3 separate regions of the Homo sapiens genome follow, and all the other regions are linked to region 2. The links are contacts of gene promoters, found by promoter capture Hi-C in blood cells and fetal thymus (Javierre and others, 2016). All regions are on one chromosome and are shown on one strand. The core of a region is centred on a gene start or on the middle of the fragment in contact, and the rest is flanking DNA. Distances in the headings are between cores, read along the strand shown. Region 1 overlaps GDAP2 (ganglioside induced differentiation associated protein 2). Region 2 holds the start of TENT5C-DT (TENT5C divergent transcript). Region 3 overlaps GDAP2 (ganglioside induced differentiation associated protein 2).

Region 1 (3,896 bases), core at 1,251-3,750, 290 kb after region 2:
TTTCTCTGGTCAGTAATGAGGTTGAGATTCTGCTCATGTTGACTTGATTCTATGAGATGCCTGTTCCTATCATTTTTCCATTTTTTATTGGGTTATTTGATTGTTTCTCACCAAGTTGTAGTTCTTTACACATTCTTGATGCTGATCATTTGTTGTGTGTTTTGTGAATATCTGCCCCCATTCCGTAACTTGCTTTTTACTTTGTTTAAGCTTGGCTCTACTTTCAAAAGTTCTTAATTTTAATATAGTCAAAACTATTTTTTCTTTGGTGGTAAATGCTTTTCATGTCTTTAAAAAAATCTTCCCTTTCTCTAAGGTTTGAAGGATACTAGCTTAACTTCTTCCACAGGTTTCAGAATTTTTAAAAATTTAAGTCCTTAATCTATCTAAAGTTGATTTGTCCATAGTGTGAACACAGAATTAGTATAAACTCTAAAATGTTTAAACCTTGATTGATGATTAACAACTTGAGATCTAAAGATAGACTTTGGTTGACAAAATCTCTATGAACATATTTGTGGGGAGAAGTTTATAGTTTACATCAGATTCTTAAAGGGTTCATGATTTTTAAAAGGTTAGAATCACTGCTGAGACACTGGTCCTGTTCTGGTTTCTAAGGACCATGCAACAACTCATGATTGCAATCTTCATCAGGTTTCTTCTTTATTCTAATTAAGTCTCTGCCATTACCACTATAGATTGTGTAAGTCTGATTATTTAGTCATTATTTTAAAAAAATCACCAGTTGGGAAGAAAGAGTAAAAGCAAAAAGACTGTTACTCTTCTCACTCAATAGACAATACCCTCCTTTTTTTCTAAACTTCATTATTCAAAGAATATTTCATGTTTTCTATTACATTTCTTATAAACAGCACCTCACTTTTTGCTATAGTGTTTTGTTTTGTTTAAAGGAAGACATGCAATCTTTTGTTCCAATCCAAAAATCAAAACAAAGCTAAAAGGAAAATATGAACTCAAAATAGTTTCTGGGTTTCCTACAGGATATTTCCTAAATATCCTATATAGAGTACTTTCTTATTCCAAATAAACAAACTTCTATTATTTTATGAGTAAATATAATAATCATGGATAAATAATCGTACAAAATATGTCAAAATGGCAGAAAAAAATAGCCACTACAGTGCTCTAAATGCAGAAACACTAATTAGTTTCTCAATGGGTTGCAACCAACTGAGGTTGGACACTGTTCTCACAAAGCTAATATAAGCCAGTTTCTTCCAGTTAATAAATTACCATCCACCTGTACAGCCAGCAGCTGAATGACAAAAAAAATTTAAACTGTATCACTCTTAAAAGACTAATAACTAACCCATCTGTGTATAATCATCGCCCAGGGAAAATTCTGTCTTTGGAATTAGCAGATGCTTTCCCAGACCTTATACAATTGACCCATCCTAGATTTAGTTAAGATCTTTGTTGTATCCTCTTATTGACCCTGTACAGTAATTTAAACAATTATTCATATACTAATTAGTTTAACATTTTTCTCCTCTGCAAGACCCTAAGCTCCATGCAGGCGGGTGCTGTATCTGTCTTGCTTGTCACTTTATTACCAGTAGTATCCAGCACAACATTTGGCACATTAGTAAAAGCTTAATAAGTATTTAATAATGAAAAAGATAATGATTTTGTTGAGAAAAATGACATAAGAGTCACAGGCAATTGAATCTTAAGCCAGTCAAGTAATACTAATAAAAAAGGAAAGGAAATCTTCCTGTAAAATAACTTGAAGAGTTTCAAAAGCAGTATTTTTGAAAAAGAGTATCTAGGTTGCTTCCTAATTTTGGTAAGTAAACCAATGTCTACCTTATGATACACCCAAATCAGAATCACAACTGGATGACAGACCTGGATTAGAAAGCACGTCTAATTTTTCATGTTAAAAACAATTATTTTGAAGAGATACTGAGGTGACAAGGCAGTGCTACGAAAGGAGTGACATAAAACTATTGCCAATCCATGTGACCTTTAGTTTCGCTACTGATGGAAGAATTGAAGGCTTTTGAAAAGATATTTACTAACTAAAAACCTACTTACTTTTACATTTGTTCAACCTAATTAATTAACATAATCAACAGAAGCCAGACTCAATATGTGAAAATAAAAGCCCGATTTAGAAATATCAAGAGAAAGAAATTTTAAAAACTACAACCTACAATCTCAAATACGGCTGAGCATGCAAACAGTTGACATAGCTTAGTTATATCATAAACTCCTCAATAAACAGCCATCAATTCTAAAACTTTTTGGTCTCAGGACCAAAATATATCTATATAAAACACAGACATTTTTATGTTTTTATAAATTATTGAGGACCTTAAACATCTTTTGTTTGTGTCATTTATATCTACCAGTTCTCATTAGAAATAAAAACAGAGAAATTTAAAAAATATTCATTAATTTAAAAACAATGAAAAACCTATTTTGTGAACATAACTTTTTTTAAAAAAGCTGTATTTAGAGAAGAGTTGTATTTTTTAACTTGCAAATCTCTTTAATTTCTGCTAGATTCTCATATGTGCGTCTGCATTTAAATTACTGTAATATCACATAGTGAGTGGCCTCCAGAAAACTCCATTGAACACTGTGAGAGAATGTGAATGAAAAAGAAAAATAAGTCTCAATAACATTTTTTTTTTTTTTTGAGACAGGGTCTCTCTCTTTCGCCCAGGCAGGAGTGCAGTGGTGTGATCACAGCTCACTGCAATCTCCACCACCTCCTGGGCTCCTCAGCCTCCTGTGTAGTTGGGAACAGAGGCATGAGCCACCATGTCTGGCCAATTTTTTTCTTAAAGAGATCCTGAAATGCCTTTAGGAGGCTGTAAGTTTAAAACTATTTTTGTAATAACATTATTTGCATTTTTCACTGCATAGACATTTACATTGATAGTGCAAAAGCAACTAATGGGTAAAAACAGCTGGTAATAGCCTTACCACAAATCAAGGCAGTGGCACCAATAAACAAAAAAGGCCAGCTGCATTTAAGAATGTCTTCGATGTAGAAGTAAAGATTATTAATTTTATTAAATCAGTTCTTGAGAACCCATCTTTTTAAATTAATGGAAGACAAAATGGAAGAACACATAAAGTACTTCTGCATATTGAAGTGTGAAGTTGCCTTGAAGAAAAGCACTATTTGATTGAGTTGTGAGCTGGACTAGTTGCTTTTTTTCATGCAACACCATTTTTACTTCAAAGAATGACTGGCAAACTGTAGTTATTCAACATGAATATGTGGCAGGTGTTTTCCCAAAAATGAATAAAGTGACCCTGACATTTCAAGAAAAATAATCAACAGTATTTGTTGCCAATGATAAAACTTGAGCTTTAAATATATACATATTTGAAACATTTTTATTGTCATCAGAAGCTTGACAGTTCCTAATATTAAATACTTTTCTGATGAGATTGGTGATACTATACAATCGATACTAACAAATATAATTTTTTGATACTGTGTAATGAAATGTGTCAATACTTGGAGCTCTGAATAATTCAATGAATCAATACTTTCCAAAAAGCTAACGTATCATGTTATAAAGTCATGCTATACATTCCTATTATAAAATCTGTCCAAAGTACAGAACACCACATTTTAATATAATAGAATTAAAAAAATTCATGGATACAGTTTGAGATTCTGCATTACAACTATGTTTTAAAACACTACTATTTATCAAATTCTGGTATAGTATCAAAGAAGAATATCCCAATTATTTTAAAAGGCTGTTAAAATACTCCTCCATTTTCCAATTAAAATCTCAGTGAGGTCAGGTTTTCTTCATATACATTAGTCAAAACAACTTACTGCAGCAGTTTGAATGCTGATAGGACAATCTGGCTGTCTTCCATTAAATCAAACATTAAACAATTTG
Region 2 (3,764 bases), core at 931-3,430:
GTTAAAACAATGAAGTTCTTAGAAGAAAACAAAGAATATTATTTTTATGGGCTTAGGATTATTTTAAACAGGACATACAAAACACTAGTCATAAGAGATAAGATTAATATTTTGAATGTCTTTAAAATTAAGTGCTTCTGTTCATCAAAAGATAACATTAGAATAATTAAAAGTCAACACAGATTGGGAAAAGATATTTGTTATACATATATTGGACAAAGGGCTCATATTCAGAATATGTAAAGAACTCTTATAGGTCATTAGGACAGACAACTCCCTACAAATGAGCGAAAGACTTGAACAGACACTTTATTAAAAGGGTATTGAAATGAACAATAAGCATCTGAAAAATTGCTCAACATCCTTGATCATCAAAAAATGCAATTTTAAATCACAATGAAATACATATCCCCCCCCTTTTTAAATTAAAAAGACTGAAAATACCAATACTGGCAAAGATGTGAAACAACCGGAAATCTCATATCACTGGTTGGAACCTAAATTGTTATACGAATTTAAAAACTGGCAGTGTATTTAAAGTTTAATATGTGAACACTCTATGAACCAGGAATCCAATCCTAGGTATATATATATATCCAACATAAATGAATGCTATGTCCACCAAAAGACATGTGTAAGAATGTCTGCAGCAGCTTCATCAAAGGCAGAAACATGAAGCAACTCAAATGTCCACCAACAGTAGGATGAGTACACAAATCGTTGAATATTTATATAATGAAGTAATACACAGTAGTGAAAAAGAATGGACCATTGTTACACACAACAATATGGATGAATCTCATAGACGCACTGTTGGGCAAGAGAAGCCAGACATAAAATTGTACGTGTTATGTATTTCATCCATAGCAAGTTCAAATATTGGTAAAACTAATCTATGGTGATAGAGGTTAAAATAGTGGTAATCCTTGTCGGATACTGAATGGGAAGGGGCATGAATGAGCTGGAAAGGTTCCACATCTTGATATGGATGGCAGTTACATGGGTATGCATATGTAAAAAATTATCATTCTGGACACTTTTGATTTGTGCGCTTTACTGAATGTTATACCTCAAAAACAAAAAGTAAAACAAAAAATCAGATCATATGTCTTGATTTCGCGTCTAACAATAGGATCACTGGCTTTCCCTATAAACACTCATATTGATGTCCTATCGCATTAAAGTTCCTGGATACTCACTCTCCTCTCCCTCGCTGGGAAAGACATATTTGAGAACTCTTCATAGTCTGACAGACAGGAGAACCACACTTATTTCAGGCAGGGTTGGAAGAGTAGGGCGGAGGAGATGTAAATACTGCATCTGGGAAGTAATCTTTTCCCCCAGCACCTAGTAAACGATCAATACAAGTACAATAATGTCTATTGATAAATAACATTGTCCAACATTGGCTACTATCTGATACATACAGCATTTGCCACACACTTTCTAACAGGCACTAGGCAATGCACTAATTGTTTCCCACGTATTTTCTTAATACTTATATAATTCTACAGAGCTGTCCCATTGTTAGTCTTGTCCTACAGATAGGAGACGCAGGTTGTTGGAGGGTTGGTTCAGTTACTTGCCTAAGGCCTTACAGAAAGTTTAAGTGGTGCATGGAGATCTCAACTCAGATTAGTCTGAATTCAGAACCTGGGCTGTAAACCACTCGCTATGTTATGAATGGATGGTGTCCAAGCCCTGCCTGCATGTTATATAACACACTGGACCAAGTGCTGTGGCATTCCGAATGGGGCCGAAGCGGCTGCGGCTGCCGACATTGGCGATGGACTCCCCGAGGCCCTTCGTCCCACTAACTGCACACAGGTGGTCCCCGGGGCCAGAGAGCCGCCGGCGCTCTCTCCCCGAAGACCACGCCTTCGCCTCCAGCCAGTTTGCTTGGGGAATCAGAAAGGTGCCCAGGGCCCAGAAACCATTAAGTTTTTTCCGACTTCAAAAACACACACCGGAGGTAGGCGTGGGCGTTACCCGCCTCACTCCTGGGGGCAGGGAGAACCAACGCGAAAATCCCCAGAGAGGCGGAAGAAAAACCTGCCTGCGAGAGAATAGGATGGAGATGGGAAAAGCCTGGGGAAGAGAGAGTTATGCGGCAGGAATAGCAGAAAAGCGTACTAAGCAAAAAGAAAGGTGTCCCACTAACTCCGAAGTTAAGTGGGTGTCGACGCAGCCCCCTCTATTGCGCTTGCGCAGTGCTGCCTCCCTGAGCACCCCGCCCCTTCCCGCCGCTGAGGATTTACTCGTCTCTTGGCAACCATTCACCCGAAGAGCCAATCAGAGGGCAGCCCTCGCCCCGCCCCTGCCGTCAGGGCCGGGCGGAAGGGTCCCGAGGGGACTGGCTCCGCCACGCCCCGCCCCTGGCTCCCCCGGGAGGGCGGCTCAGGGGCGGGGACGGGGGCGTGGTCCCGCCGTATAAGAACGGAGGGGGCGGCGGCGGGACGGCTCACTCGGTGCCGCTGCCTAGGGGCTGTAGAGGTCGCGCCGCTCCTGCTGGGGCCTGCCCACGCCAAGGACCTGCCTCTGTCGCCTCCTCTTCTATTGCCCAGGTGAGTCCGCGACCCCCCTCCTCTAAAGGTGCGGCGATGCGGCAGCAGCCCCAGGGAGCCGCGAGCTCACTTAGTGGGGGTCCGCCCCCACTAAGTGGTGCTCAGGTCTTTGCCCAGCCTGGTAGGGGGCAGGCGGACCCGAGGGGAGCTGCGGACAGGTGCCGAGACCCGGTGCTCCTTTCCCCTCCTGCTCCCTCGAGGACCCCCGCCCCTGACACACCCGTCCCAAAGGGCCAGAAGAGACGCTCCGAAAGGGAGCTACAACTTTCCAGAGACCTGGGGCTTGGCAAACTCCAGCGAGTTCCTGCTCCGCGCGTCCTGCAGGCTGCGCGCTGGCCAGGCGCGGGCAGGGCGTCTGAAGAGTGTGTGATCGGCGCCTCCGCTCCTACCTGGATCAGACGGCGCCCCCCGCCACCCATGCCTCCCTTCCTGGCTTGCAGTCCCTCGGGCTCGCCCCGGCGCTCCCGCGGGCGCGCACACCTTCGCCGGCCCGCCGAGTGTGAATTCGAATTCGGCGGTTTCACTAGGCGCAGCTGGAGACGCAGCGGTCCGGGGCTTGGATCTGGTTGGGGAGGGGAGGGGCGCTTCCTAGGCTCATTGCCAAGTCCTGAGTTTTAAGGAGAAGGGCGGAGATCCTTAAATTTAATGCGCTCACATCAGACTGTGGACACCATGAGCAGCAAAGGGATCCAAGCCAGTGACTTGTGCGCTGCGCGTCTCTCAGAAACTTCTTGGGAATGCGGTGTCTGTGAAACCTGCTTCCTCTCCTTTTGAAAATGAAACTTGCTTTACTGCGTAGGTGAAAAGCCACGGCAAGTGGGTCGACTCGGACGGATACCGGTGCGGCTGCCCCGGGAGGTGTCGCAGTTCGGGGACTCCCTTCGCACTGGTCGCGAGGCAGGAGGGAGCAGGGTGGGAGGCGAGTCAGAGGAGGGTGACTTACCTGAAGAATACAGGTTGGTAGCCTGCACACCTGAACTCAACGCTGGCGGGCGAGAAAACCAAGCAGCGCTACCTCCAAGTAAGGGCGCTCCCCTGGAGAAATGAATGCCTGGCGAGCTTCTGGAGAACCCACTATTAGGGCTGGACCCTGCGGGAGGGATAGTGTCAGCTCCCTTCCCCTTCGCCCTTTTTTGTCCATAGGTAGGCTTTTGTAGGGCTCTAACCAGTTCCCTGGCTTAATTAAGTAGGGGCCTGCTT
Region 3 (3,920 bases), core at 899-3,398, 310 kb after region 2:
AAAATCAGAGAATGCAGAGACCAGCCAAAAGCCTTGTCAGGAGCAATTATATCAAGGGAGGAATTTTGCTTTCGTTAGGTACCATTTAGAAGATAGGCATGTAATAACATAGTAGTCTTCCACTGAAGCAGTTCTAACTCAAGCATAATGAATCATCTAGTATAACAGACAGGTTACTAGACCTGGGAGTCAGAAGGTCTGGATATATGCTCCAAGTCTGCATAACCCTCATAACAGGAGAAATTTCTGAGACCTTTTATTTGTACAACGGACACCACACTACCTAAAACACAGGGTTGTTAAGTAAAGTAAGTGGAATTTACTTGTCCCTTTTAAAAATATATATTTCTTGAGCAAGTACCATATGTCAAGCATTCAAGATAAAAAGATAAGATCCCTGCCCCTCAAGCTCAGTCTAATGTAATGTATATAAGCTTAATTATAAAATATACAAATTTACTATAAAATCCTTGAGCAGTTAGAATATTGGTTTTTAAAATAGGTTATAATTAAATAAGACTAAGACTGAACAGATACTCACCCTAAACTCCAGGCTACATAATAATAACTTATACATTCAAATATCTTTTTGGTATTTGTGGATATAAGGCTTTCAGCTCTTCGACTTTAAATTCTAGAGATAACAGGGGCTCTTAAAGATGATTTAGTATAGTTCGTCTCTGAAATGAGAAGTGTTTTCTATAACAGCTGCAACAGATGGTCCTGTAACCTCTGCATGAATGTTCCTAGTGACAAGAAGTTCGCTAAAATACTTTGCTGTTACAGTTAGTACTACTTCAAGTGGGACCAACATTTTCTTCCTTATAACTTGGTCTTAGACCTTGCCTTGTACAGTTGGAGTTCTTATCTACAATCCTGATGAGGATCTGTAAACTTCCTGAAATAACATGCAAATTCTGTATTTATGCACATTTTTCTTGACAAAGGGTCCATAGTGTTCTTTCACCAGATGCTCATCGTAGTTTATGACAATATCCCAAAGAACTGCTGCTTGAAAAATGTAGCACAGAATAAGTCCAAATGAGATTCCTTCAGATATTTGAAGATGGACATCATATTTGCTAAAAGCATGCTCTTCTTTAGAAGAAACACCACTACTGTTTCAAACTGTTTGTCCTCCTGTTTGTCAGTGTCTCATGCAATATGACACACAGAAATATATATAAAACTCAAGATGTGGTCTAAATCTGCATATATACAGTGAGATCATGGACTCTCTTTAGCTGAATGCCATATTTTTATGTGACATACAGGCATTTGGCTCATATTGACTGAGCCCAGTCTTTTGAAAACCTAAATGCAGAATTTTACATTCAAATAGCATGTGTGAATGTGGCTATTTAAACTGCCAAGTGTTATACAAATATGATATCATGAAATCTGACTGCATTTGTTACAGACTGTTAAGATTATTCTAAATTCTGATTTAACTACTCAATGCATTAGCCATACTTTCTAACTTAGCATCACTTTCAAATTCAAGAGGCTAGCTGCTCTGAATCTATTCTGGTTTTGGGGGCCGTCCAATTCAAATCTCATTCTTTGCTCAATTAAATTCTGTTAAATTAAAAAAATTAATAGGCAAGTCTTCTGACCCGTTATTCAAATGGATAAAAATGCCAACCTGAAAAAGTAAATTGAGAGCTCTGCAACTTGCCAATAAAAACTTCCCTCCAGGGAGCCACAATCACTTAATCAATGAATATTCTTTGGCTGTAACTATTTAATGATTAAAAAAAAAAAAAACCTTTTTTTTTTGAGATGAGGTCTCACTATATGTTGCTCGGGCTGGAGTGCAGTGGCTATTCATAGATGCAATCACAGCTCACTGCAGCCTTAAACTTCTGTCCTCAAGTGATTCTCCTGCCTCAGCCTCCCAAGTCGCTGGAATTACAGGTATAAGCCACCATGCCCAGAATTTAAAAAATTTTTAAGATTCAATTCATGTACAGCATCTCTGATATTACTTACGAAGTGCTATGTGTGTTGCATCCTCTAAAGGATAACCACGTTTTGCAGAATTGATGACACAGAAGCCAACAGAAGACATTGACTGCTCTCTGCAACAAAGGGAAAACACAAAAATTGCACTAGAAATATCAGTAATACATACACAACAATATATAAGTAATTTCAAAATCTAGCTCAACTTCTCCTTTCCTCCCTCTTCAACAAATCTACTATAATAGCTAACCCAACTGTACCACTCAATAATTCTATTCATATACAATTTAATTGCACTCTTTGGAGGATATATATCTCACATAAAAACTGAATAAAAAATGGGAAAAGGTTAAATTCTCAAGTCACTCAAATCTATCCCATTTATCCCGCTAAGTTTGAAAAGATAATTCTATTGTCAGGGTCCTCCTAAATCACCTAAGTCCCTCAAAATTTGACTTCCACTGCTAGGTTTTTAATCTTTAAAAACTGGGGCCTTTATCTTTAAAAACTGGGGCCTTTAACAATGTATGATATGCTATGTCCAGAAAATGAGTAGACCATACTTTGCTAGTTGAAGTACGTTTCTGTAGCAGCTATAAAGGGAACTCTCAGCTGCTGTGCGATAGCGGCTTTTATATTTAGGTCCCACTGTGTGAATGATGAACCGGGCAGCTAGATTGAATCCTTTTGTCAATTTTGCTTCACCTGTTCGGCACCCTGAAAACAATGGAAACACACATAAGTTTGGATGTGTTAGGAAAACAGAAACAAAAACAAATGAAAGCATGAAACAGAGAAAGTATTGAGAACTTTGAGAAATTTCAGTTAAAAATACAGACTGAACACAAGCATTTATCTCTGTTACTTCTGTTCCCAAAATGACAGTGAAGCAATACAATAGGTATAAGCACAGAGACAGATAAAGAGAATGAGAAAGACCATGAAGCAGATAAGCATCATCAAAATTTTGGAAGGTAGAATGTCAACTGACTAGTAACTGACTCAACAGAGCAGACAAACCTAATTGCTTGCAGAAATGAGATAACTAATACGAAGCAAGTTGATCTGTACTGAAAAGCAGTGTTGGATACAAGACAGACTGCTTTGATTCAAATCCTGAGTTCCTGTCAAGACACTCTGGGCAGGGGCTTAGCCTTGTTACAACCCAATTTCCTATTTAAGAGGGATACTAGTAGTACTTACTTCACAGGATTAAACGAGTTACTATATGCAAAGTGCATACATGCATAAGAAATTATTGTTATTATTACTAGAGAATGCTAAAAAGGCTCAGAAATTGGAGCCCTAAGTACTTGTAAAGGCTATGCTGTCAAGTGGGATGTGGTGCTAAAAAGAGGAGGTCCAGTTAAAAGTTTGTATAAAAACAGTCAAATCTGCAACAACCCCTCCCCCAGCCAGCACAGTAAGGTGATGATTTTTTTTTTTTTTTTACCACCAGAGCAGCAGGGAAGAAGTTTATTCTCTGGAGATGCTCAACTAGAGAGTTTCTGGATTCCAGAACCCCAGGCACAGCTGAAAAGAGGGGATTTAGTTAAAGTGTTATACTTAACAGTGAAAGGTCTAGCCCTCTGCCCCTAAATGGCTTTCAAAACAGACATCTAGGCTTACACTCCTGGAGGATTCCTTTCCAAGAAATTGAGAGGCCCAAACCTAAAGGACCTACAGATAACTGGGGAAGTTCCCCAATAAAATAACAGGCAGGAGTCCCATTCTGTCATATGCTTCAAGACCCACCAGGCAATAACCGTTGCCCACTGTTATGAACTGAATGCTTCGGTTCCCTCAAAATTCATATGTTAAACCCTACCCCCTAATGTGATGGTATTAGGAGGTAGGGTCTTTGGGGGTAATTAGAATTAGATAAGCTCATGAGGGTAAAGCTTTCATGAATGAGATCTGAATCCTTGTAAGAGTCTCCAGAGAGTCTGCTCCCT

Evidence for each region. Contacts are between HindIII fragments. The CHiCAGO score rates a contact against its expected background, and 5 or more counts as called.
Region 1: a fragment that was not itself captured here is called in contact with the fragment with the promoter of TENT5C-DT in region 2 in 1 of 17 cell types (naive B cells); the score reaches 9.6 in naive B cells.
Region 3: a fragment that was not itself captured here is called in contact with the fragment with the promoter of TENT5C-DT in region 2 in 1 of 17 cell types (naive B cells); the score reaches 5.7 in naive B cells.

The regions. Positions count from the first base shown.
Region 1 is chr1:117,891,493-117,895,388 of GRCh38, forward strand. The region is part of intron 8 of GDAP2 (ganglioside induced differentiation associated protein 2); the gene reads right to left. Among named protein-coding and RNA genes, the nearest start is that of GDAP2, 36 kb to the right of the region's middle. The HindIII fragment of the contact is 1,778 bases long and covers 1,612-3,389 here.
Region 2 is chr1:117,603,590-117,607,353 of GRCh38, forward strand. It overlaps TENT5C-DT (TENT5C divergent transcript), which reads right to left and starts at 2,181. Exons shown (of 3, transcript NR_121626.1): 1 at 2,057-2,181; 2 at 1,200-1,347. TENT5C (terminal nucleotidyltransferase 5C) reads left to right here and starts at 2,459. Exons shown (of 2, transcript NM_017709.4): 1 at 2,459-2,564. RefSeq lists enhancers at 1,273-1,773, 1,774-2,274 and a silencer at 2,185-2,524. The HindIII fragment of the contact is 6,964 bases long and covers 1-3,764 here.
Region 3 is chr1:117,910,002-117,913,921 of GRCh38, forward strand. It overlaps GDAP2 (ganglioside induced differentiation associated protein 2), which reads right to left. Exons shown (of 14, transcript NM_017686.4): 4 at 2,529-2,682; 5 at 1,993-2,081. Among named protein-coding and RNA genes, the nearest start is that of GDAP2, 18 kb to the right of the region's middle. The HindIII fragment of the contact is 3,432 bases long and covers 433-3,864 here.